Linked DNA regions of Homo sapiens: all the other regions are linked to region 7. The links are contacts of gene promoters, found by promoter capture Hi-C in blood cells and fetal thymus (Javierre and others, 2016). All regions are on one chromosome and are shown on one strand. The core of a region is centred on a gene start or on the middle of the fragment in contact, and the rest is flanking DNA. Distances in the headings are between cores, read along the strand shown.

Region 1 (3,665 bases), core at 835-3,334, 7.7 Mb before region 7:
CAAATAGAGAACTGTAAATTAACAGCAGAACTGAGTGGTTTAAAGAAAAGCCAGCAGATGTGGGGGCCACCTTCACAGGTCTGTAACACAGATATTGACAGATATGCTCTGTCAGTGGAGAAACTGGGCAAGAGTGGAAGGCAGGGCTTACAAAATGACTGTGAAAGGACCAGCTAATGCCCTGAACTCTCCTAGCTGGACAGAAATGTGAAGTTTATCATCCAGACAAAACCAAGAGGCTCCAAATTTAGTGATGACCAGCAAAGTAATGAGAGCATCCTAGTAAGAGAAGAATGAGTAAAAGTTTATACACATAACAGAGGCTCTTCTACTGTTAGAGTCCGAGAATGCTGGTGGTTACTAGCTGTCAGATGATGGAAGAATTATTTTCTTTTTTCTTTCTTTCTTTTTTTTTTTTTGGGACGGAGTCTCGCTCTGTTGCCCAGGCTGGAGTGCAGTGCGATCTCGGCTCACTGCAACCTCTGCCTCCCGGGTGAAGGGATTCTCCGGCATCAGCCTCCCGAGTAGCTGGGATTACAGGTGCCCGCCACCACGCTCGGCTAATTTTTGTATTTTTAGTTAGAGACGGGGCTTCACCATGTTGGCCAGGCTGGTCTTGAACTCCTGACCTCATGATCCACCCGCCTTGGCCTCCCAAAGTGCTGGGAATACAGCCATGAGCCACCGCACCCGGCCCGGAAGAATTATTTTCTGAAAAAATGAGAAGACCATGAGAACACCTACAGATGCTAACATTTGGAATCATCTAACGAAACACATCTATATTACTGATTGATGCACAGTGAAAACCACCATTTCATAAGCCCCGCTTACATACACAAATTAATATAGAGCTAAAGATCAGAAAACATTTGATGAAAGTCCTAACATCAAAGGCAGATCAAACAAAATACAAGGCAAAGAGCAGAAAAACTCACCCATATAATACTACAATTAATATCATGGAAAGTTAGGAGATTACTATTATCACTGCAATGAAATATTAACAGTGTTCTATAAAGAGGTGTTTTTAGAAATAAACAATATGAAATTGATCTTAAAAATTCAGTATGTTGGGGAAAGAAAGTCTAGAAAATCTCCTAGAATAAAAAAAGGAAGAATGGAGGAAGGCAGAAAGAAAGAGTGTAATGGTTGGAACATTTAGTGGGTTAGTGGAAGAATCTGGAAGGATCAGCATCTACTAAAGAAGTTCCAAAGAAAGTATGAAGAAAAATGAATACAGGACATTTTCAAAGAGCTAATAAAGAACACTTCCCAGAATTACAAATCATGAGTCCACATACTTAGCAGGCCCATTGAGTACAAAGAACATTCCATTTAAAAAGATAGCGGCGAAAGCACATCAATACAAAATTTCACCTAGGGATAAAAAGAGGATCCTAGTTTGAGACCGGCCTGTGCAACACAGTGTGATCTTGTCTCTACTAAAAATAAAAAAGATTATCTGGGTGTGGTGGCATATACATGTACTCCCTTCTACTTGGGGAGGCTGAGATGGTACGATGGCTTGAGCCCAGGAGAGTGAGCTATGATTACCCTACTGAACTCCGGCTTGGGCAAGAGTGAGACCTTGTCTTAACAAAAAAAAAAAATCCTAAATGTTCCAAAACATTTATCCTATAAAAGGAAATAAAAGAAAAAGACATACCACATCAAAAAGGCATCAGATTGCAAGACAATGGATAATCCTAACCATAAGTTACTTCCAACTTAGACTTCTAGGTTTTACAGTTCTGTCTGAAAGCTTGGGAAGAATCAAAACACAAAAATGGAAAACTAAGCAAACAAAACAAAGAAGCAAATATTAATTAAAAGAAAAGCAAAAGGTTATACAAGAAATCAAACAGAGTCATAGAAAATCATTTGGTTTACCAGTCAACAATGCTTACAGTGTTATAGTTACGTAAATGCTTACAAATGCTTTAATAAAAAAGCAGTGATCTTACTAGTATCAGAAGTCAGAAGGGGAAGTATGGGTATAACATACTGGGGGTAACATTTCAGAACCCCGTTAGTAACTGAGAAAACAACCACTCTCAACCTCTGAATTCAAATCCATAAAATACAATATAAATAAAAAGAAAAATGTATACACATTTATAACATATTTTATTAATCAGTTTATCCTATATCTTGAAAATAGATTATAAACCACCTTTTTAAATGCCCAAAGAACATTCTGAAAATCAGCCCATACAGTAGCCTGTTCCACAAAGTAGTAAAGGATGGACAAAATACTCTGACCAAAAAAACAAAAAACCCAACACATAGAAATGACAGAACAAAAACAAAACCTTTCACTTGTAAATTTCAAAATCTATTGGTTTGAACAAACCCTTTGGCCAGGGAAAATTAATGCTTGGAGAATGAAGTTTTAGCATAAAAGCTTACATCATTTTAAAAAAAGTAATAAAATAAGCACTCAAAGTAATTAACATAAGAAAAAGTAAATATAAGAAAAACAGACCGGGTGTGGTGACTCACGCCTGTAATCCCAGCACTTTGGGAGGCCGAGGTGGGCAGATCACTTGAGGTTAGGAGTTCGAGACCAGCCTGGCCAACATGGAGAAACCCCATCTCTACTAAAAATACAAAATTAGCCGGGTGTGGTGGTGTGCGCCTGTAATCCCAGCTACTCGGGAGGCTGAGGCAGGAGAAATGCTTGAACCCAGGAGGAGGAAGTTGCAGTGAACCAATATTGTGCCACTGCACTCCAGCCTGGGCAACAGAGTGAGACTCTGTCTCAAAAAAAAAAAAAAAAGAAAGAAAGAAAAAGGAAAGAAAAACAGAAAATTAGTAAAAATAGGAAAAAGAAATTAATGTATTACAAACAGAAAAAGAGAAATAATAAATTCATGAGTGGATTCTTAAGGAAAAACTTAAAAGAAGTAAGAGTAAAAAAGAAAAAGATATTTGGAAATAACTATAGATAGAAAATATGGATAGTACAGACTATTTTGTTAAACCCCATGCAAATAGAAAACTTAGCAAGTATAACCGATGCGAACTGAAACCAGAAAAGACAGAAAACCTAAACAGAAACATAAACATAGTACAAAATAGGGCTGGGTGTGGTGGCTCACGCCTGTAATCCCAGAACTTTAGAAGGCTAAGGCAGGTGGATCATTTGAGCCCAGCAGTTCAAGACCAGCACTTTGGGAGGCCAAGGCAGGCAGATCACAAGGTCAGGAGATCGAGACCACTCTGGCTAACATGGTGAAACCCCGTCTGTACTAAAAAGACAAAAACAAAAAAAATTAGCTAGGCGTGGTGGCGGGCGCCTGTAGTCCCAGCTACTCTGGAGGCTGAGGCAGAAGAATTACTTGAACCTGGGAGGCAGAGGTTGCAGTGAGCTGAGATCGCCCCACTGCACCCCAGCCTGGGTGACAGAGCGAGATTCCGTCTCAAAAAAAAAAAAAAAAAAAAAGGACCAGCCTGGCCAACACCGTGAGACCCTGTCTCTACAAACAATTTAAAAATTAGGTGGGCGTAGTGGCAGGTGCCTGTAGTCCCAGCTGCTCAGAAGGTTGAGGTAGGAGGATTACTTGAGTCAGGAGTTCAAGGCTGCAGTGAGCTGTGATCATGCCACTGCACTCCAGCCTGGGAGACAGAGTAAGACCTTGTCTCAAAAAAAAAAAAAAGAA
Region 2 (4,101 bases), core at 98-2,597, 7.6 Mb before region 7:
GTAATCCCAGCTACTCTGGAGGCTGAAGCACGAGAACCACTTGAACCTGGGAGACGAGGTTGCAGTGAGTTGAGATTGCACCACTGCACTCCAGCCTGAGTGAAAGAGTGAGACTGTCTCAAAAAAAAAAAAGAAAAGAAAAGGAAAGAAAGAAAAGAAAATATGATTATATCATCACTTGTGTAGTGTAAGGTATTAACTTTGGTAAGACATTAATGTATACCTCATTTACTACCTTGAAGTTGTATCTTTATCTTACTTCAATAGTTTTAAAGTCGAAACAGCTTAGACCAAAAGTCTCATTTTCCATCATCAGGGTTTCACATGGCTAAGCCTGATATGATCCGCAAGTTGGAACAAGGAGAAGAGCTATGGACACAGAGAATTTTTCCAAGTTACAGCTACCTAGGTGAGTCTATAAATGAAGTCTAGTGAACATTAAATGTCAAGTAGTTGAAGCCTTTGAATGTTTTTAGGGATCTATTTTTGTTATTGTGGTAAAATACACATAACATTAAATATGCTATCTTAAACTTTTTAAGCATATAGTTCAGTAGCATCAAGTACATTCGCACTGTTGTGCAACCATCACCACCATCCATCTCCAGAACTATTCATCTTGCAAAACTGAAGCTCTGTACCCATGAAACAATAACTTCCCCTGGCCAGGTGAGGTGGCTCACGCCTGTAATCCCAGCACTTTGGGATTACAGCCAAGGCCAAGGTGGGTGGATCATGAGGTCAGGAGATGGAGACCATTTCTGGCTAACACAGTGAAACCCTGTCTCTACTAAAAATACAAAAAAATTAGCCAGGCATGGTGGTGGACACCTGGAATCCCAGCTACTCAGGAGGCTGAAGCAGGAGAATTGCTTGAACCTGGGAGGCGGAGGTTGCAGTGAGCCAAGATCACACCACTGCACTCCAGCCTAGGCGACAGAGCGAGACTCCATCTCAAAAAAAAAATAAATAAAAATAACTTCCCTTTATCCCTACTCCCTAGCCATGCCAACCACCATTCTACTTGCTGTCTCTGTAAATTTGACTACTCTAGGTACCTCTTGTAAGTGCAATCACATAGTATTTATCCTTTTTCTGACTGGCTTATTTTACTTAATGTAATGTCCTCCAGGTTCATCTATTTCCTTCATTTTTAATGCTGATTAATATTCTGTTGTATGTATATACTATATTTTGCTTATTCATTCATCCGTCAGTGGTCCGTTGGGTTCCTTCCATCTTTTGGCTATTGTGAATATTGCTGCTATGAACATGGGTGTACAAATATCAGTTTTAGTCCCTGCTTTCAGTTCTTTTGGGTATAATCTCAGAAGTGGAATTGCTGAATAATGTGGTAATTCTGTGTTTATATTTAAGGAGTCACCATACTGTTTTCTATAGCAGCTGCATCATTTTACATTCCCACCAACAGTGTACAAGGGTTCCAATTTCTTCACCAGCACTTGTTATTTTCTGTATTTTCGTAGTATCCATCCTATTAGTGATCTATTTTTAAAGACCTGAGATCTGTAAAGTGCCTATACATGGCTGACTTTCATGCCTCTAAAATGTAAATTTTAGGTATGAATATCACTCCCCATGTAAATCTTTTCGTTGTTTGCCTGGGTTTGTGGAAATATTGCTGCTATTACCTTACCAAGAATCTATTCCATGTTTTATAGGTATAATGTACATAGAGATGTAAAGTGTAAAGTTCTTTGAATTCTGACAGAAGGATAAACCCACGTATCTCACACTCCAATCAAGATAAAAGACAGTTTCATTAACCCATTAAGTTCCACCAGGCCTCTTCCAACTCAGTCCCTCCCATTAAGATAATCACAGTTGTGATGTCTACCAACATAGATTCATTTTGTCTATTGCAAACCTTTTTCATGTCTGCTTTCTTTCACTCAGCTTCATGTCTGAGAGATTTATACATGTTTCTGCATGCATAAGTAGTTTGTTAACTGTGGAACAGTTTTCCATTGTACGAGTATACCAGTTTATGCATCTCTTGTTGAAAGACATTTGGGATGTTTCTAGTTTAGACCTATTATGAACAAAGCTGCTATAATCATTCTTGTAAAAATATTTTTGTGGACATACATGTTTATTTTTCTTCAGTAAACACGTAGCAGCGATATCGCTGATTCATAAGGCAGATGCGTATTTCATTTCTTTAGAAACTACCATTTTGGTTTGGTAGTTTAGTAGCTAAAACTACTATACCATTTTAGACTTTCATCAGCACTGTATGAGAATGTTGATTGCCCCACGTTCTTTTCTACATTTTATGTTCATTTTGTCCATTCTGGTCATTTTGACCATTCTGGTTGTATAACTTCGCAGTTTTAATTTAGATTTATCTTACAACTAATAATGTTGAAAACTTTTTCAAGTGCATTTTATATCAGAGGCATCTGTTCAAGTGTTTTGTTTGTTTCTTTGTTCGTTTGTTTGTTTGATAATTTTTGAGACAGAGTCTCACTCTGTCGCCCAGGCTGGAGTGCAGTAGCACAATCTTGGCTCACTGCAACCTATGCCTCCCGGGTTCAAGCAATTCTCCTGCCTCAGCCTCCCGAGTAGCTGGGATTACAGGCGTGCGCCACCACACCCAGCTAATTTTTTGTATTTTTAGTAGAGACGGGGTTTCATCATTTTGGCCAGGCTGGTCTCAAACTCCTGACCTTGTCATCCGCCCACCTTGGCCTCCCAAAGTGCTGGGATTACAGGCGTGAGCCACTGCACCTGGCCCTGTTCAAATGTTTTATCCATCTTTTATTTAGGTAGTATGTATTTTTCCTTGAGTAGTAGGAATTCTTTACATACTGTGGATAGAAATCTTTTGTTCAATGTATGTATTACAAATATTTTCCCTAGTCTATGACTTGCATATTCATTTTAATGGTGTCTTTTGATGAACAGAAGTTTTTAACTTTGGTGAATTTCACTTAATCATTGTTTCTTTTATCATTAATTATGTGACCTCTCAAACAAATATTTGTCTTTTTCTAGGTATAGTGAGGATAATTCTCTTTTCTAGGTATGGTGAGGATAGTGCTCTGTAATTTCTTTGTATATTTTGCTTTTTTTTTTTTTTTTTTGAGACAGAGTTCCGCTCTTGTTGCCCAGGCTGGAGCGCAATGGTGTGATCTCAACTCACCGCAACCTCCGCTTCCCTGCAACCTCCACCTCCCAGGTTCAAGCGATTCTCCTGCCTCAGCCTCCCGAGTAGCTGGGATTATAGGCGTGCACCACCACGCCCCGCTAATTCTGTATTTTTAGTAGAGATGGGGTTTATCCTTGTTGGTCAGGCTGGTCTTGAACTCCTGACCTCAGGTGATCCACCTGCCTCAGCCTCCCAAAGTGCTGGGATTACAGGCATGAGCCACTGTGCCCGGCTGTATATTTTGCTTTTTAAGATTAGTTCTGTGGTCCACCTCATGTTTTGTTTATGATGTGAAGTAGGGTTCGAGAGTCTATTCTTCTATATGGTTATCAATTTGTTCCATCAGTATTTATTGACTGAATTACTATGGTGATCATAGAGAAAATTGATCACATTTGTATCAGTCTATTTTTGGACAATCTGTTGTTTCCTTGGACATAATTTAAGTCACATTGACAATACCACCTGGTCTTTGATTATTGTAACTTTATAATAAGTCTGGAAGTCAGTTAGCGTAAGTCCTCTAACTTTATGCTTTTTAAAAACTTTTAGGGCCAGGCATGGTGGCTCATGCCTGTAACCCCAGCACTTTGGGAGGCCGAGGCGGGCGGATCACCTGAGGTCAGGAGTTCAAGACCAGCCTGGCCAACATGGTGAAACTCCGTCTCTACTAAAAATACAAAAATTAGCCGGATATGGTGGCACATGCCTGTAGTCCCAGCTACTCGGGAGGCTGAGGCAGGAGAATTGCTTGAACCCGGAAGGCACAGGTTGCAGTGAGCCAAGACCGCGCCATTGCACTCCAGCCTGGGCAACAGAGTGAGACTCCATCTCAAAAAAAGCAAACAAACAAATGAAAACAACTTTTAGCTATTCTATGTCATTTTCTTCTCAAATTCATTTTGGAATCAACTTCTTGATTTCTTTAG
Region 3 (3,714 bases), core at 1,107-3,606, 7.8 Mb before region 7:
AGGCCAGTAGATCTGAATCTTAATGGATCATGTTTGATAATCTCATTAAATTACATATTTTCTCCCCATAAAAGTGGCATATTAACAGATATCTATAACAATTTTACGTACAATTTCAAAGAGTATCTGGTCCCCTGAAAGCCTCAAATGAATTCAAATTACTTCTGGTTAAGAATTCCTGTTCTATGGCCGGGCACGGTGGCTCATGCCTGTAATCCCAGCACTTTGGGAGGCCAAGGCGGGCAGATCACCTGAGGTCGGGAGTTCAAGACCAGCCTGACCAACATGGAGAAACCCCGTCTCTACTAAAAATACAAGATTAGGCAGGCGTGGTGGTATATGCCTGTAATCCCAGCTACTAGGGTGGCTGAGGCAGGAGAATCGCTTGAACCTGGGAGGCGGAGGTTGCGGTGAGCTGGGATCACACCATTGCACTCCAGCCTGGGAAATAAGAGCGAAACTCCGTCTCAAAAAAAAAAAAAAAAAAAAGAATTCCTGTTCTAGGCTGGGGGCGGTGGCTCATGCCTGTCATTCCAGCACTTTGGGAGGCCGAGGCAGGCAGATCACTTGAGGCCAGGAGTTTGAGACCAGCCTGGCCAACATGGTAAAACCCGGTCTGTACTAAAAATACAAAAATTAGCTGGGTGTGGTGGTGCAGGCCTGTAATCCCAGCTACTTGGGAGGCTGAGGTATAAGAATCGCTTGAACCACGGAAAGGGAGGTTGCAGTGAGCTGAGATTGTGCCACTGCACTCCAACCTGGGTGACAGAGCAAGACCCTGTCTCAAAAAAAAAAAAAAAAAAAAAAAAAAAGAATTCCTGTTTTAGACTATTTAAGCATCTGATCTGGCTCATTTATTTTTTACTAGGAAATACTCACCACAATTGGCTTAGTATTTTCATTTTCCCCCCATCTATAGAAGGCTGATGTAGAATTGCTCCAAATCACTACTTAAGAATACATAACTAAGGTTTATTAAGTACTAACGAGGTCTCAGGAACTGTTCTAAGAACTTTACACATAGTAATTAAAAGAAGGCCCACAGAAGTAATGAAAAACATCTACCAAATGGGTATGTGCATACAGGCTCTCGGGAGGGGACCTAGGTATCAGCTCAATGGACAGGACATTTATGGAGAATGAAACAAATATTCTCATGTCCTAAGAAATAAGAATGCATTTCACAGAAGAAAGCAGAAACACCCACTCGCCTCGACCTTGACTTAAACAGGCAACAGCAATTCATTCCTCCTCCCGCTCGGACCCCTTTTCTTAAAGAATTGGGCAGGACTGGCTAATAAGGGAACCAGGCTTTTCTTGCAGCCCAGCCTCGCATAGGGCACAATGCCCCCACCGCCCACCCACACATAACCAGAGTAACATAAGAGAGATGGTGTTGTTAACTCTTCCCAGTATCAAAGAAAGGCCAGGGTCATGGATGCCCGGGGCTAGAACTGGAGTTCACAATAGCTTCCTGGAAGCAATGCTGTGGTTCTGAAACCTGCAGCTGGACTCTTCAGAGTTGTGAGTGCACGTGCGTGGGTCCGGGTCCGCGAGGAGGTGGTGTGGGAGTCCCTTCCAGGAGCAAGCCTGGGCGGGAGCGGGGGCTCGTTCAGTTCTAATATTCCTATCCCAAGGTCGGGTCTGAGCCTTGTTTCGCTGTTGCCCAGGCTGGAGAGTAGTGGTGCTATCATAGCTCGCTGCAGCCTCAATCTCCTCCTAGGCTCAAGCCATCCTCCCGCCTCAGCCTCTCGAGTGGCTGGGACCACAGGAGCACGCCATCACACCCGGCTCATTTTTTAAATTTCTGGTACAGATGGGAGTTTCGCTTTGCTGCCCAGGCTGGTCTCGAACTCCTGGCTTCCAGCGATCCTCCCGCCTCGCTCTCCCAGAGCTCTGGGATTACAGATGTGAGCCACCTGGTCCGGCCTAGTCTGCGCGTTTCTGCTGGGAGTCTTTGGCGTGCAGAAACTGACCGAGGGCCATTTCTCTGCAGCTGGGCCCGGTGTGGGCAGAGGATGCTGGGGTCAGTCACGCACTCCACGGCCACAACAACCTTCGCTCATACAATAGTCTCTGCACCCAAGTCAGCCGCACAGACTCCGTCACGTCCCAGCCCCGGCCCCGTCACGCCCACGACACACACACCCGGGCCTGAGGCGCGGGCTCCCGCCCCTCTGCGATACTGCAGTGGCCCCGCTTACCTCTCTTTACCCCCTGGGCCGCAGCGCTTTTCCTACAGATTACCAGGACCGACGCTCCGGGCCAGGACTGCTCACTCGGGGCGCGAACCCGAGGCACAGCGATGCCCGAACGGAGGAAGCCGCTGCCGGGTCACGCCACAATCCCCGGGGCCTAACGGGCTGCGCGCGGAGGCTGCTGGGAGGGCCGGGCGCGCTCACGGAGTGCGCAGGCGCGGCCAGTCTCAAGGGTCCGCTCGCTGGTGCAGCCCCTGCTCTGCGTGAACCCGGAGCCGGAGCTAGGTCCGTCCCAGCGAGGCTGCGCTTCGAGTCCCTTAGCGCCTGGGGACGGCGCGGCAGGGCCTGGAGGGGAGCGGGGACAGATGGCTGGCGCGTTAAAGAGGGGCGCCCGCGACCGCCTCTCTATAGTGCCAACTAGGGAGCCCTGTGAGCGAGGACGGCGCTGCGAGTCTGTCCCTGGCGCGCTCCTGGGTGGGATTCTTTCACTGGGTGTGGCTGTTGGGATTTGAGACCGTGTGACTCCGGAGATTCGGGGAAGCCAGTTCCTATATTTTCCATTTCTGTATTTTTAAATGGTAAAAACAATGAAAAGGAGAACAATATTTTGTGAAATATGAAAATCATACATGTCAAATTTCAGTGTCCATAAATAAAAGTTTTATTGGAACATAGCCGTGTTTGATTGTGTACTGTCTATTGCTATATTTGAGCTACAAGGACAGACTCGAGTAGTTACACAGACCAGATGGCCCACGCAGCCTAAAATACAGTCAGTTCTCACTATTCACAGTAGTTATGGTCTATAAACTTGCTACAAACACGGAATTAGTGAATACCATTCCACTGCTTCTAGGGGAAATACAGGGTTAGTTTCCTGTAAGCATCTGGTCACATTTTAGTCAACCGATGAATGCATAAGCTTATTTTATTGTGTTTATTTTCTTTTTTTCTTTTTTTTTTTTTTTTTTGAGATAGGGTCTTGCTCTGTCACCCAGGCTGGAGTGCAGTGGTGGGATCTTGGCTCACTGCAACCTCCTCCGCCTCCCGGGTTCCAGCAATTCTCCTGCCTCAGCCCCCAGAGTAGCTGGGAATACAGATGCATGTCACCATGCCCAGCTGATTTTTGTATTTTGTAGAAACGGAGTTTCACCATGTTGACCAGGCTGGTCTCAAACTCCTGACCTCAGGTGATCCACCCGCCTTGGCCTCCCAAAAGTGCTGGGATTATAGGCATGAGCCACCGCGCCTGGCCTTATTGTGTTTCTATTTAAACACTTTAATATATATTATTGATTCATTAACATTGAACTCATGGCCAACAGCTCCATAACTCATGCCTGAATGAAGCTTATCTAACACATGTATTTTTTCTGTAAGACACATGACCGCTTTCTCATTCATAGGAACATCAACAGCACTTTAGTACTACTACATTTGGGGTCCCTTTGAAACAGCAAAATCACCAGCAAAAAACAAAAATATGAGAAGCCAAGGTACTAAATGGACTGCAAAA
Region 4 (3,714 bases), core at 1,183-3,682, 7.7 Mb after region 7:
AGCTAAGAGGTAGAAAAGGCCATTACGCATGAATGGGTTGGAGCTGAGATCTCCAGGGTTGAAAAATCCAGGATCCAACCATTCCCAGAAGCTCATGGCAGGCTTTCCCTCATACATAATACATCAGAATTGCACCAAATACTCACGCGGAGAACATGGCAATGTAACCGAGAAGGGCAATGATACCACCCTGACTGGTAAGGATAATCTGGATTTCCTACTGAACTGAGGTTCAGGTCAAATGTCCAGAGGACACTACCTAAATTAAAGAGGAATTTTCTTAAGAAAGGGGGCTTGGTTGTCAGATTGGCAGCCAACAGTATCCAATAAAAAAAAAAAAAAAACTAGGGTCTGCTGTGTTGGCTCAGGCCTGTAATTGCAGCAATTCTGGAGGTGAAGGCAGGAGAATTCCTTGAGGCCAGGAGTTCAAAACCAGCCTGGGCAACATACCAAGACCTTGTCTCTACAAAAAAAAATTAAAAATTTGCCAGGCATGGTGGTGCATGCATGTAGTCCCAGGTACTTAGGACGGTGAGGCAGGAGGATCGCTTGAGCCCAGGAGTTCCAGGCTGAATTGAGTTTATGACCGCATCACTGCACCCCAACCTGGGCAACACAGCAAGATCCTGTCTCAAAAAAAACAAAAGGCAAAAAAAAGGCTTCCACTTCAAATAAAAGTTAGGATGCTTCCAAACCATTACAAGCCCTCAGCCTTATCTGCTTTTGGGAGGAATGAAGCAGGGAGGAAGGAAACAGGTGATTTCTCCCATATGATGTCCTACCTTTGGATATGGCTGACTGCTGTATCAGGGTATCATTTTGTGTGGGCTTTTTAAAAAAAATTTTTTTTTTTTTTTTTTTGAGAAGGAGTCTCAATCTGTCGCCAGGCTAGAGTGCAGTAGCGCGATCTCAGCTCACTGCAACCTCCACCTCCCGGGTTCAAGCAATTCTCTGCCTCAGCCTCCTGAGTAGTTGGGATTACAGGTGCCCACCACCACGCCCGGCTAATTTTTGTATTTGTAGTAAAGACGAGGCTTCACCATCTTTGCCAGGCTGGTCTTGAACTCCTGACCTTGTGATCCACCTGCCTCAGCCTCCCAAAGTGCTGGGATTACAGGTGTGAGCTACTGTGCCTGGCCAAATTTTTTTTTTTTATAGAGACAAGGTCTCGCTATGTTGGCCAGGTTGGTCTTGAACTCTTGGCCTCAAGCAATCCTCCCACCTCAGCCTCCCAAAGTGCTAGGATTACAGGCATGAGCGACTGCTCCCAGCCTCATGGTATAGTTTAACTTGTTGTTCTCTACCTACCCAACTCCCAGTTTTTCCTTTTAATTAAGTGAGTAGTTCAACTTAGAGGTTTGATTAGTCCCATGTTCAATTTTTTTAGGTAAGAATCCTTCATGGATGGTGCTGTGTACTTCCTACTGCAACATATGAAGAGGCATGAGGGCAAAAAAAACAAAGAAAAAAAAAGGGGGAGCTGTTATAGAATTAAAGAGATCTAAGAGATACAACAAGCAAATCGAATGCACCCACATCATTTGGATCATGATTCAAACAATCCAATGTTAAAAGACAATGATGAGATGATCAGAAAAAAACTGAATGTGGACTAACTATTCAATGAACTAAAGAAATAGGCTGGGCACAGTGGCTCACACCTGTAACCCCAGTACTTTGGGAGGCCGACATGGGCAGATCACTTGAGGTCAAGAGTTCAAGACCAGCCTGGCCAACAGGAAGAAACCCCATCTCTACAAAAAAATACAAAAATTAGCCTGGTGTGGTGGCAGATGCCTGTAAGCCCAGCTACTCGGGAGGCTGAGGCAGGAGAACTGCTTCAACCTGGGAAGTGGGAATTGCAGTGAGCCAAGATAACGCCACTGCAGTCCGGCCTCGGTGACAGAGTGAGAGTCCACTCACCCAAAAAGATAAGGAAAGAAATTATTATTAACTTGGATACACTGAAAATGGTCTAGGATGGGTGAAGTGGCTCACACCCGTAATCCTAGCACTTTGGGAAGCCGAGGCAGAAGGACTGCTTGAGCCCAGGAGTTCAAGACCAGCCTGGGCAACATAGCAAGATCCTGTCTGTAAAAGAAAAAACAAAAAGGAAATGGTCTAGTGGTTATAAATTTTTTTAATGACCTTACTGGTTAGAGATTCATACTGGGATACGTACAAGTTTCAAGGCATGAAGCCTTGGATTTGCTATGAAAGTCTCCAGACTAAAACAAAAGTGGAGGCACAGATAAATATGACTGATATGACAGATGAATATGAATTGATAACCATTGAAGCTAAGTTATGGGTAAATATTATACTCAATTTCCATGAAAAAAAGTTAGAGTCATCAGAGCCTGATGAGTTCTATCTAATCTTTACAGTACAGAGATGACTCCAATATTATGTAACATTCATCAATCACAGAAAAAGTGAAGCCTCTCTAACAATTATATAAAACCAGCATTTCCAAACACAAATCAATAGAATAAAAAAAAAAAGAATTATAGAGATAGGTGCTTTTCCATTGATTTTCATCCTTCCTTCTTTTCTAATACTTGCATTCAAGGTTATAAATTTCCTCCACTGACTGCTTAGGTTAAATTCAACAAGGGTTTACATGTAGAATTCTTATTAAAATGCAATTGAAAATATTTCCACTGTGATTTTTTGAACTCAGATTATTTAGAAGCGTATGGCATAATTAACAATCATTCTGACAAGAAAACAGCATGTTCTGAATTGATAGTTCCAAAAAGTCACATGACTATTCTATGGTGAATAAATCATTTTGATATTGATTTATAGCTTAATTCCACTATAGTTAGAGAAAATATTCTATATGGTTTTAATCATTTGAAATGTATTTAGACTTGCCTGATGGCCAACCATACGGTGACTTTTTATAAATGTCCTATGTGCATCTGAGGAAAATTATTGAGTGCAGTGTTTTATATTGGTCAAGTTTGTTAATTAGGTATGTCATTCTAACCTTTCAGGGGTTGGGACTATTGTGGGTTAGCTGAATGTTTTTGTAAATAATGTTTTATCAGAACACAGCCACACCCATTTGTTTACACATTCTGTACAGCTACTTTCATTCTATAATTGCAGAACCTAGTAGATGCAGACAAGACCATTTAGCCGGCAGAGACTAAAATATTTGTCATCTGTCTGCACCTTTACAGAAAGTTTGCCAGCAATGGTTAATCTATACCCTTTTAGCTTTTTGTCTGCCTGTTCTCTCAGTTACTGAGAGAAGTATGTTAAGAATTTCCCATTATGATTGGGCATTTGCGGTTTCTCCTTGTGTCTAGCATACTCCATTCCTCTATACTTAACACACTAAGTATATGCTCTATTGACTTTTTTTTGAGATGGAGTTTCATTCTTGTTGCCTAGGCTGGAGTGCAATGGCATGATCCCAGCTCACTGCAACTTCTGTCTCCTGGGTTCAAGTGATTCTCCTGTCTCATCCTCCTGAGTAGCTGGGATTACAGACACCCGCTACCACGCCCTGCTAATTTTTGTATTTAGTAGGGATGGGGTTTCATCATGTTGGCCAGATGTCTCGAACTCCTGATCTCAGGTGATCTATCCGCCTCAGCCTCCCAAAGTGCTGGGATTACAGGCGTGAGCTCTCATGCCCAGCCCTCAATAGAACTTTTATGCACCAAAAGACATGTAGAAAAACGTTCATATCAACAATAC
Region 5 (3,672 bases), core at 1,051-3,550, 7.7 Mb before region 7:
AGGCGTGGTGGCTTATGCCTGTAATCCCAGCACTTTGGGAGGCCAAGGCCCACCAAGGCAGGCGGAACACCTGAGGTCAGGAGTTCGAGACCAGCCTGGCCAACATGTTGAAATGCTGTCTCTACTAAAAATACAAAAAAAATTAGCCGGGCATGGTGGCAGACGCCTGTAATCCCAGCTACTCAGGAGGCTGAGGCAGGAAAATCGCTTGAACCCAGGAGACAGAGGTTGCAGTAAGCTGAGATCACACCACTGAACTCCGGCCTGGGCAACAAGAGTGAGACTTCGTTTCAAAAAAAAGCACTAGTCATAAAAGACAAAGTACTAAATAAATATCTGCTACAAAAATGGGGAAAGACATAAACAGGCAATCTTTTAAAAGACTCTGAAATGTTCAAACACACTCATAATGAGAGAAATAAGAAAACAACAATGAGGGCTGGGCACAGGGGCTCATACCTGTAATCTCAGCACTTTGGGAGGCCGAGTCTGGTGGATCACCTGAGGTCAGGAATTTGGGACCAGCCTGGCCAACATGGTGGAACCCCATCTCTACCAAAAATACAAAAATTAGCTGGGCGTGGCGGCACGCGCCTGTAGTCCCAGCTACTCAGGAGGCTGAGGCAGGAGAATCACTTGAACCCAGGAGGCGGAGGTTGCAGTGAGCCGAGATCGCGCCACTGCACTCCAGCCCCGGCAACAGAGCAAGACACTGTCTCGGGAAAAAAAAAAAAAAAAAAAAAAGAAAAGAACACTGAGGTACTATTTCTCATCTATTAGACTGGTGAAAACTAAAAAACATGACAACATATTCTGTTAGGTGGGCTGTGAAGGGAAACAGACATGCTCATACACAGCAAGTAGGAATAAAAACTGGTACAACAGTTCTAGAGAGGAATTTTGCAATACTTAACAAAACTACAAAGCACTTACCTTTTGACCCAGCAATACCGCTTCTAGGAATCTACCCTAAAGATACTCCTCCAGCAATAGAAAAATACATATATACAAGGTTATTGCAGCACTGTTTCTAGTAACAAAATATTGTAAATGACCTAAATATCCATACGTAGGAAAGCGGTTCAATAAACTATGATAAATCCACAGGCTGCAGTATTATGTAACAATTAGAAAAGAATTATGAATATCTCTTTAACTGCCTGAGTGTTATCCAGAATGTATCATTAAGAGAAAGAAACAATGTACAAAAGAGTGCCTAGAGAATGCTATCTTTAATGTAAAAAGAATATAGGTAACTCTTCATTTGTGCAAAAGAAACACAGCAAGGATAAAGCAGAAACGAATGAAGTTGAATATATACAAGGAGTCTGTGGGAACTAAGTTAATTTTTATTTATTTATTTATTTATTTTGAGACGGAGTCTCGCTCTGTCGCCCAGGCTGGAGTGCAGTGGCGCGATCTCGGCTCACTGCAAGCTCCGCCTCCCAGGTTCACGCCATTCTCCTGCCTCAGCCTCTCCAGTAGCTGGGACTACAGGCGCCCGCCACCACGCCCGGCTAATTTTTTGTATTTTTAGTAGAGACGGGGTTTCACCGTGTTAGCCAGGATGGTCTTGATCTCCTGACCTCGTGATTCGCCGGCCTCGGCCTCCCAAAGTGTTGGGATTACAGGAGTGAGCCACTGTCCCCTGCGAATGTTTTCACATTCAAAATAGTGTAGCCTGCTACAATCAACCAGGATGTGGGGGAACCCAAAATGCAACAAATGATCCTTAAATGTAAGAAAAATGTAAGAAAAAAAAAAAACATACTGAAAAGAGTGGCAAAGAAAAGAACTAAATTGAGTAACTTTGGAAGATGTTTGTTTACTATATACTATAAGCTTAAAGAAAAAGAGCTACACAGAGATTCTCTACTGTAGTTACTAAATACTTTTTACACAGGTCCAGGTTGGCAACTCTGAACTAATTTGCATGTATTCTAGGATAGAGCTAATTATTGATTCTGAGAAGCAGGTTTCTCTCTGTTGGAAAATGAAGTAACAAGGAAATGGCCAAATTTGATGGGAGACAATTCTCCATGGGTCTTGCATGTTTCTGCGTATCTTGCAAGAAGAGGTACTAAGTGTTTTTGTTCTGCACTATTTTACCAAGTTGTTTATACAGTGAACAGCCTTGGAAGACAGAGTCGGTCTCCTTCTACAGCAAAGGGTAGGCATTCTAACTATCCATTATAAAAAATTCAGGTTTCCTAAGGTCAAGGGAACACACAGATACCTGTGTATTTTGCATAATCCTGGGTGTATGACTGAATCAGTACCATGAGAATGTAGATATTCTGAAGATTGCCATGAGCAACAAAGCATCCTTTGTCTCAGACTCAGAAGTCTCATGTTTTCTGAACGTATCTGTGAAACTGACAAGCCAACTTACTAGCTTACAACTAGGGTAAAATCTCAGATAGTTCATAGTTCTTGGGAAAAGAAAATACCCTGTGGTACTGGAATAGAATTAAACATATGAGTGTAAACTGGTGTGTTTTTAACATATAAACAAATAAATAGACATAAATGTGCATGTAGACATTTGTGTATTTTCTCACTCTCTCCACTGACCAGAACCAGAGCAAAGACACACCAGTAGCAATAAGCACACCAAGTGCCCAGATCTTGGTTTATAAATTCATTCTCCAATAAAAGAAATTAATGCTGCTTGGAGAAATTGCTGAGCCCAGAGATGGAAGAGGGAAAATACAAGATGAACCTGGAACATCTTATGTCCCAGAAAGCGGGGTTGGGGGGAAGCTTTAAAAAATGATCACACGTTGAAAAGACACAAGAGCCAACTTAAGGAGCTTCTGATGGCCAAATATGGGAAAATTTGAACAGCAAAATAAATAAATAATAATAATAGAGAATAGAATAAAATAAATATCCATGAGTCCATAGGTAAATAATTGAATAAACAAATGGGGACAAAAGAAAAACTTCAGCTGAATTAAATGTAAAGGAGTTTCATTGAACAATGAACGATTCGCAAATCAGGCAGCCCCCAGAATCACGGCAGATTCAGAGACACTCCAGGGATGCCTCGTGGTCAGAACAAATTTATAGACAAAAAAAAGGGAAGTGACATACAAAAATCAGAAGTGAGGTGGAGAAACAGCTCAACTGGTTACAAGTTCTTGTTTGCCTTTTTTTTTTGAGACGGAGTTTTGCTCTTGTTGCCTAAGCTAGAGTGCAATGGCACGATCTCAGCTCACTGCAATTCTCCTGTGTCAGCCTCCTGAGTAGCTGGGATTACAGGTGCACTCCACCACACCTGGCTAATTTTTTGTATTTTTAGTAGAAATGGGGTTTCACCATGTTGGTCAGGCTGGTCTCCAACTCCTGACCTCAGGTGATCCGCCTGCCTCGGCTTCCCAATGTGCTGAGATTACAGGCGCCAGCCTCTGTGCCCAGACAGTGTTTGCCTTACTTAACACAGTTTGAACACTCAGCAGTGTATGAGTGGTTGAAGTATTGCTGCTGGGATTAGCCAAGACTCAGCTTGTTACAGGCACATACACTGTTACAGGCACACAAGTTAGGTTTCCAATTCTGTCTACCTGTTAGGTTACAGTTCGTCCATAAGGACTCAAATATAGAAGTACAAAGTCCTTCTCAGGCCACATTTAGTTCACTTTTAACAGGAGCAAGAAGAGACAGCTCTTC
Region 6 (3,818 bases), core at 895-3,394, 7.7 Mb after region 7:
AAACAGAATGCTATAAGTAGAATGATGTCTTTTGTTTCCCAAGGCGACCTACTAGAGCGATGTGAAAATAATAAAAGTGAGATCGTTCATGGCAAAGTTATCTCGGGGTAAATGCTCCAGCTGCAAGCACCAAAGGTGAGTATTCTCAGGGCAAATGGGAAAAGGAATAAAGGATATTACGAAGGATACAGATGAAGAGGCAGATGGAAGGGATAGCACAGAGCAAGGTTTGTAGCAAGGGGCGTGGGACTTCCATGCCCTCCACGGAAGCTTATTAGAGACTCAGTTCACCACCCTCAGGCACCTCCACATGCTCAAGAATCTGTAAGTTCCCCAGAAGTTCACCAGTCCTTTTGAGTTTTTACGCTGGTTTCATTATGTGGGCATACTTGATTAAAACACTAACCACTGGTGATCAACTCAACCTTCAACTTCCCTGTTGCCAGGCAGAGCTAAAATTTCCAACCCTCAAATGACATGGTTAGTTGCCCTGGCAACCAGCCTCCCCCGTCCTAAGGCCAGCCAGAAGCCCCCAGTCACCAGCCATCTCAATGCCACACAAAAAGGCACTGTTTACTGAAGAGGTTCCAAGGCTTTTGGGAGACATGTGCCAGGAAACAGGACAAAGATCGATTATACATTTCTTATAAATCGTAACAATCATAGCTAGGCGCGATGGCTCATGCCTATAATCCCAGCACTTTGGAAGGCCGAGGCGGGCAGATCACCTGAGGTCAGGAGTTCAAGACCAGCCTGGCCAACGTGGTGAAAGCCTGTCTCTACTAAAAATACAAAAATTAGCCGGGCGTGGTGGCGGGCGCCTGTAATCCCAGCCACTCGGGAGGCTGAGGCAGGACAGTCGCTAGAACCCAGGAGGCGGAGGTTGCAGTGAGCTGAGATCGCACCACTGCACTCCAGACTGGACAACAGAGCTAGATTCCGTCTGGGGGATAGGAGGAAACTTTGATCCCCAAATGCTCAAGGAGACTGATGCTTAAGCAAACTAAATATTGCCTGAGAACGACTCCATACTTCTATATTTGAGTCCTTGTGGATAAACTGCAACCTAGCTTAACAGACAAAATTGAAAACCGAACTTAATCGTATGCACCTGTAACAATAGCTGAGTGGTGGCCAGTCCCAGCGGCCATACTCATAGACTGCTGAATGTTCCAACTGCGTTCAAATAAGGCAAACGCCGAATGGTAACCAATCTCACTGTTTCTGGACCTCGCTTCCGATTCCTGTATGTCACTTTACCTTTTTTGTCTATAAATTTGTTCTGACCACGAGGCACCCCTGGAGTCTCTGTTAATCTGCTGTGATTCTGGGGGCTGCCCAATTCGCGAATCGTTCATTGCTCAAGGAAACTCCTGTAAATTTAATTCGGCTTCAATTTTTCTTTTATCACTGATTTGAGTAATAATAAAACTCCGGTCTCCCCGCACAGCCGGCTCTGCATGAATTGCTCTTTCTCCATTGCAATTTCCCTGTCTTAACAAGTCGGCTCTGTCTAGGCAGCCGGCAAGGGTGGGCGGTTATAGTTTCACAACTCAACCCCAGCCAGGGGCCTGGGCTTGTAAAATACCAGATTTTACAAGCCTCTGAGCCCCACATGCCTGGGCCTCCCCGAAACACTTAACACACATCCCCGATTCACCCCAAAACCTACACCACACACCCTCGTACGCTGCCCAGCACCCCGGCTTCATCACCGACTTTAAACTGCAGCATTTGGAGTGATAATAATGGCGTCGGTGATAAAGCCGGCGTGCTGGGCAGCGTCCCCCTAGAGTTCTCCATCCAGTGATCCAGAGGCCTACTAACAGAGTGACCCTCAGAGACCCCAAACTCTGACGCCGAGTCTCAGTCGCTGAACTCGACAGACCTTTAACGCCCGACCACAAGAACTCTCCCACGCCGGACCGCAAAGGCACCCCAACCCAAAGGCTCCACCGCCCAGGCCGCCAGCTCTCCCCACAGGCTCCTCAGAAGCTCCCTACCCCTTTAACCTACTCCACGGAGAGACCCAAACACTCACCTGATTTTCTTCTGGCTACACCTAAATTCCCTGAATGCTTCCTTTCCTGGCCCTTAAACCCCGGCACTGGCCTATGGCGGCGGACGAGGGCGCGAGTCAATTCTGCCGCGCTAGGACGATGGGACATGGGCTTCTCTTCGAGGAGGTAACATGTCCGCGCCCTGAGCCACGGCTCTCTGGGCGCGGCCATCTTGGTAGATCTGCCGTACAGAAGGGAAACAGTTGTTCTTGTGTCATTAAACCGGGATGACTCTCCTGAAAGCAAAAATTTGAGGCGCAGGAGCATTTTCTAGAGTTTATCTGAACAAACAGCAATTCATGAATTAGGAAGCATCAAACCAAAAGAAGTCTCGCGCTTCTATGCTTAAAGCATTAGACACAAGTATTCACAGGGTGAGTGAAGGAGTAAAACAAAGAAATTATTTGATTAGTTACAATTATAAAAATGCATTTTTTTAAATTTGCCTTGGAAAGTCCCTAATGACATAATAGCATGTGAGTTGCCTACTTTTGATCGGTTGAGATTGAGTTTTGTCCTTCCCTAACACAAGCATTTACCAGAAATGACTCAAGTGAATTGTTGCTTATGTTTGCAGGTTAAGCAAGGTTAAGGCTGTTTTTAAGGCCTACTGGGTTTTGTTTGCTCAGGAGTTTTTGAATTCTGGTCTGCATTTTAATTTTGCTTTGACACAGGAGACAGTGAAATGGCACTGATGTGTTCCCTCTCCTGACACCTCAACCCCTGCACTGTGAGGTTGGAGCACTAACAACAGTGCACTGTGGGGAAAAGAAAGAGAGATCAGACTGTTACTGTGTCTATGTAGAAAGAAGTAGACATAAGAGACTCCATTTTGTTCCGTACTAAGAAAAATTCTTCTGCCTTGAGATGCTGTTAATCTGTAACCCTACCCCCAACCCTGTTCTCACAGAGACGTGTGCTGTGTTGACTCAAGGTTTAATGGATTTAGGGCTATGCAGGATGTGCTTTGTTAAACAAATGCTTGAAGGCAGTATGCTTGTTAAAAGTCATCACCACTCTCTAATCTCAAGTACCCAGGGACACAATACACTGCGGAAGGCCACAGGGACCTCTGCCCCAGAAAGCCAGGTATTATCCAAGGTTTCTCCCCATGTGATAGTCTGAAATATGGCCTCGTGGGAAGGGAAAGACCTGACCATCCCTCAGCCCGACACCCGTAAAGGGTCTGTGCTGAGGAGGATTAGTATAAGAGGAAGGAAGGCCTCTTGCAGTTGAGACAAGAGGAAGGCATCTGTCTCCTGCTCGTCCCTGGGCAATGGAATGTCTCGGTATAAAACCCGATTGTATGTTCCATCTACTGAGATAGGAGAAAATCGCCTTAGGGCTGGAGGTGAGACAAGCTGGCGGCAATACTGCTCTTTAATGCACCGAGACGTTTATGTATGTGCATATCAAAGCACAGCACCTTCTTCTTAAGCTTGTTTATGACACAGAGACATTTGTTCACATGTTTTCCTGCTGACACTCTCCCCACTATTATCCTATTGTCCTGCCACATCCCCCTCTCCGAGATGGTAGAGATAATGATCAATAAATACTGAGGGACTCAGAGACCGGTGCCGGCGCGGGTCCTCTGTATGCTGAGCACCGGTCCCCTGGACCCACTTTTCTTTCTCTATACTTTGTCTCTGTATCTCTTCTTTTCTCAGTCTCTCGTCCCACCTGACGAGAAACACCCACAGATGTGGAGAGGCAGGCCACCCCTTCACTGCACAAACCACACAGATATTCAGAGGC
Region 7 (4,008 bases), core at 62-2,561:
ACAACAACAAAACAGAACAAAAAAAAAAAGAAAAAAGTTGTGAAAATGTAGTGAGGGTCCCATAGTCTGAATAGTTTGAACTAGTTCCTGGCACATACTTGGTTCTTTATAAGAGATAGTTGTATATAACAGAATAAAGAATATATATTTAGTAAATGAGAACTGCAAACATGTACTGTAGTAGATATGTGGATATTTTTAGGTATTGCTCTCTTCTTTCAACCCTCAATTCTTGGAAACATCAATTCCATTATACATTTAAGCAAATAAAGATCAAGGTTTAAACACTGAAGTAATAAATTTGTTCATCTTTCAAATTCAGAAACTCCTTGAGGAATGATTACAGAGGCCCTAGTTGCTTTGTGGAGTTGATCTACCATATGCCAAAGCTTGTGTTTTCTATGTCTAGCTATCCTCAGTAAGCAAGTTGTTCTGAATTATATGACTGTGCTATTAAGAAAAGTGGAAATCCATAATATATTCTGCCTTCGTTGCATTTTTTGATTGCTCTTTCATTCTTTTAGTATCTAAAGAGTAGTTTTTCTATTAGTCGATCCTGTTAAATGTAAAAACTTAAAGGGTTTCCTCTGCCCTTTTTTTTTTTTTTTTTGGAAGTGGTGGGTATAATTCTATTAGTACAGGATCACGTGATCTGTTTCTTATAATAGTTTTTTTTTTCTTTTTTTTTTTTTTGAGACAGAGTCTCACTCTGTCGCCCAGGCTGGAGTGCAGTGGCACGATCTTGGCTCACTGCACCCTCCAGGGTTCAAGCGATTCTTATGCCTCAGCCTCCCAAGTAGCTGGGACTACAGGCGCGCGCCACCACGCCCGGCTAATTTTTATATTTTTAGTAGAGACGGGGCTTCATCATATTGGCCAAGCTGGTCTGGAACTCCTGACCTCGTGATCCGCCCGCCTCGGCCTCCCAAAGTGCTGGGAGTCTTTTTTTATTTTAGGGCTCCAATTCTTCACATATTTGCTGTTACTTTTTGTTAATAAGAAAAACCTAAATTCCACTGACATCAGAGAACTGCTTCAGCCTGGCTAAACAGCAATAAGCCGTGAAGAGGATTCTGGATGTTGTAGTCCGGGAGCTCCGAGAATTTTGTCACACTCTCCGTAACCCTCTCTCACTCGCTCGCTCCGTTTTTTTTTTTGTTTTTTTTTTTTTCAAGCGCGAAGAGGGCGGCACCTGGATGGTTTTTCCTTCTGGAAGTTCTGGGAAACGTATTCCAGAACTCTGTCCGGAAACAATTGGGCCGCAGGAGCGCGGGCCTTCTGGGAAGGGTAGTTCAGGAGCTCTGGGCAGGCAGAGCCACTTCCGCCCCGGAAAGCGAGGCCGCCACCATCTTTTGGGTCCGGGAGGTGAGTCAGCCCTGCACCCCCACGACCCCTCTTGAACCTTTTCAGCCTGTGCTTGGGAATAGGCGCTCCCCAGCCATCAGTCTTGGGATGGAGAGGTCGCGGCCGCGGCGGAGGCCGAGAGGCCGAGGGCGGGAAGTTTGCTCTCCTCCCGCACTTGGCAAGCAGCGCCGCTAGTTCTGTGGGTATAATAAACAGCGAGTTACCTATGATCCGCGCTCCTGTTTCCTCATCTTTAAAATAGCAATAAAGATAGTCGTTACTGTGTAGGGTTGTAATTAGAATTAAACAAGATAATACGGGTCAAACCTTAGAACAGTGGTGGCACCTGATACTGGGTTGGCTCCTGCTATTGATACAGTGATTCCCTCACAAGCGCCCTTTTTACTGGAAGCTCCAGTGAAGAGAGAAGAAAAGTCAGGGCTTTATGCCATGGCCTTTCTGTCGTATCCTTCAGGAGACCGAGCTCTTCCCGAACTTTTACAGATCTTTTTTTTTTTTAAGAAGGATTGAGTCATCGGGCTCCAATGCGTGGGGATGTTTACCGCCGTTTATCCGGGATAGAGACTCCATCGTGCTGACAGCATCCTTTTATTCACCGCCTCCGAATTTGCAAAGAGGAGGAAGGAGGGACTTCTTGGCTTCTCCCAGCATAGCCCCAGGTACCTGCTCTTGAACGCACTTTGTTGTTCCATTTTCTGTCCTTTCAGTTAATCAAGTTTCCGTCACTCAGTAAGTTACTACTGAAAAATGATGAAATATTTGTTGAATAAATGTGAGAGTGGGTAGGAAAACTACTTGGAAATGAGTATTACCAATAACATCTTACCACTTTGATTTTAAGGCATTCGTCTGTGGACCATAGCTATTGATGAAGTAGGTCTTGTTATTTTGTTATGAGGAAATTAGGCAGAGTTTATGTTATTAAATACTTTCCCGAAGTTATTCAACTGATAGTAAGAGGTGGATTTGGGATTGAACCCAAGCATTCCTTTTCAGACTGTGTGATCTTTTTTGTTTGTTTTTGTTTCTTTGGTTTTTGTTGTTGTTTATTTTCTATTCCTTTTTCTGAGTCTGTGGTCTTAATCTCAATGATACAGTCGTCTTCAGTTATCTTAAATAGTAATCCATATGGCTACCGGTGAGTCGTTGGAAATCAGCCTTGGGAATGTAGGTATGGATTTTACTGTGGAAGACCTCAAAAACTGCACTGATGAATTTTGAATTTTTTAGAAAAATCCTGCAACATCTCACTTACTTAATTTCATTCCATGTCAAAATATGTCATATTCTAGTTATAGAAGTAATGAATGCTCATTATAGAGATGCACTATCCAATCCAGTAGCTATAAGCCATGTGTGCCCTAGGAGCACTTGAAATGTGTCTAGTCCAAATTGAGATGTGCTGTAAGTGTTAAATACACACTGGATTTCAAAAACTTTGTACAAAAAATGTAAGATGGCTCATTGATAATTTTTTGTATTATATGTCAAAATGGTAATATTTTGGATACATTGGCTTAAATTATGTTGTTGAAATTAACTTCACCTATTTTTGTTTTTGTTTTTTTGCCTTTTTTATATGTTACTGCTAGAAAATTTAAAATTATTTATGTGTCTCAGTATATTTCTATTGGACAGTGATGTTATATTCAGAAAACTTAAATTACTTATAATAAAACTGCTAACACTTTAATGTGTTTCCCTTTAGTATATGCTATGGATGTTTCTCAAAATAGGTTTGGTATTCTGTGTAGTAGTTTTTTTCTTATTATGAAAATTTTCTTTTTTCTTTTTTTTTCTTTTTTTTTGTGAGATGGAGATTCACTCTTGTTGCCCAGGCTGGAGTGCAGTGGCGTGATCTCAGCTCACTGCAACCTCCACCTCCCAGGTTCAAGTGATTCTCCTGCATCAAGCTCCCGAGTAACTGGGTTACAGGTGTGCGCCATCACTCCCAGCTAATTTTTGTATTTTTAGTAGAGACGGGGTTTCACCGTGTTACCCAGGCTAATCTTGAACTCTTGACCTCAGGTAATCCGCCCACCTCGGCCTCCCAAAGTGCTGGGATTACCGGCGTGAGCCACTGCGCCCAGCCGAAAAATTTCAAGCATATTCAACTGTCAAAAGAGTGGTGCAGTGAATTCCACGTAACCAACACTCAGGTTCAACATTTGCTGCAGACCATCTCCTCCTCCTTCCACCCCACTTTTTTTTTTTTTTTTAAATTAGAGTGTCTTAAAGCAGGAGTCCCAACTTCTGGGCAGCGGACCTGGTACTAGTCTGTGGCCTGTTAGGAACCTGACAGCACAGAAGGAGGTGATTGGAGGGGTACCGCCTGAGCTCTGCCTCCTGCCAGATCAGCAGGGGCATTAGATTCTCATAGGAGGGACTGCACATGTGAAGGATCTAGGTTGTGCGCTCCTTATGAGAATGTAACTAATGCCTCATGATTTGAGGTGGAACCTATCATCCCCAAACCATCTCCCCCGCCCCCATCCGTGGAAAAATTATCTTCCGTGAAACTGGTCCCTGGTGCCAAAAAGGCTGCAGATGGTTGTCTTAAAGCATACGCCAGACATCAGGTCAGTTTTTTTTTTTTTTTTGAAACGGAGTCTCGCCTGTCGCCCAGACCGGAGTGCAGTGGCG

What was found. Contacts are between HindIII fragments. The CHiCAGO score rates a contact against its expected background, and 5 or more counts as called.
Region 1: a contact is called between a fragment that was not itself captured here and the fragment with the promoter of ZNF227 in region 7, in 2 of 17 cell types (non-activated CD4 T cells and total B cells). The highest score is 9.6, in non-activated CD4 T cells.
Region 2: a contact is called between a fragment that was not itself captured here and the fragment with the promoter of ZNF227 in region 7, in 1 of 17 cell types (non-activated CD4 T cells). The highest score is 6.6, in non-activated CD4 T cells.
Region 3: the fragment with the promoter of ZFP82 here is called in contact with the fragment with the promoter of ZNF227 in region 7 in 7 of 17 cell types (non-activated CD4 T cells, total CD4 T cells, activated CD4 T cells and 4 more); the score reaches 21.3 in non-activated CD4 T cells.
Region 4: a contact is called between a fragment that was not itself captured here and the fragment with the promoter of ZNF227 in region 7, in 1 of 17 cell types (total CD4 T cells). The highest score is 7.0, in total CD4 T cells.
Region 5: a fragment that was not itself captured here is called in contact with the fragment with the promoter of ZNF227 in region 7 in 2 of 17 cell types (naive CD8 T cells and naive CD4 T cells); the score reaches 12.9 in naive CD8 T cells.
Region 6: the fragment with the promoter of ZNF649 here is called in contact with the fragment with the promoter of ZNF227 in region 7 in 7 of 17 cell types (total CD8 T cells, naive CD4 T cells, total CD4 T cells and 4 more); the score reaches 17.8 in total CD8 T cells.

What each region holds. Positions count from the first base shown.
Region 1 is chr19:36,517,433-36,521,097 of GRCh38, forward strand. The region is part of intron 2 of ZNF260 (zinc finger protein 260); the gene reads right to left. Among named protein-coding and RNA genes, the nearest start is that of ZNF260, 9.0 kb to the right of the region's middle. The HindIII fragment of the contact is 642 bases long and covers 1,764-2,405 here.
Region 2 is chr19:36,610,334-36,614,434 of GRCh38, forward strand. It overlaps ZNF382 (zinc finger protein 382), which reads left to right. Exons shown (of 5, transcript NM_032825.5): 4 at 317-409. Among named protein-coding and RNA genes, the nearest start is that of ZNF382, 7.1 kb to the left of the region's middle. The HindIII fragment of the contact is 5,848 bases long and covers 1-4,101 here.
Region 3 is chr19:36,416,288-36,420,001 of GRCh38, forward strand. ZFP82 (ZFP82 zinc finger protein) reads right to left here and starts at 2,357. Exons shown (of 5, transcript NM_133466.4): 1 at 2,205-2,357. RefSeq lists an enhancer at 1,726-1,885. The HindIII fragment of the contact is 3,270 bases long and covers 1-3,118 here.
Region 4 is chr19:51,882,152-51,885,865 of GRCh38, forward strand. The region is part of intron 1 of ZNF577 (zinc finger protein 577); the gene reads right to left. Among named protein-coding and RNA genes, the nearest start is that of ZNF577, 3.9 kb to the right of the region's middle. The HindIII fragment of the contact is 7,920 bases long and covers 1-3,714 here.
Region 5 is chr19:36,480,752-36,484,423 of GRCh38, forward strand. All of the region lies in intron 1 of ZNF566 (zinc finger protein 566), which reads right to left. Among named protein-coding and RNA genes, the nearest start is that of ZNF566, 7.0 kb to the right of the region's middle. The HindIII fragment of the contact is 921 bases long and covers 1,841-2,761 here.
Region 6 is chr19:51,902,873-51,906,690 of GRCh38, forward strand. It overlaps ZNF649 (zinc finger protein 649), which reads right to left and starts at 2,145. Exons shown (of 5, transcript NM_023074.4): 1 at 2,042-2,145. RefSeq lists enhancers at 278-823, 1,914-2,458, 2,177-2,296, 2,787-3,411. The HindIII fragment of the contact is 3,228 bases long and covers 269-3,496 here.
Region 7 is chr19:44,211,221-44,215,228 of GRCh38, forward strand. ZNF227 (zinc finger protein 227) reads left to right here and starts at 1,312. Exons shown (of 6, transcript NM_182490.3): 1 at 1,312-1,365; 2 at 1,870-2,024. The HindIII fragment of the contact is 5,683 bases long and covers 388-4,008 here.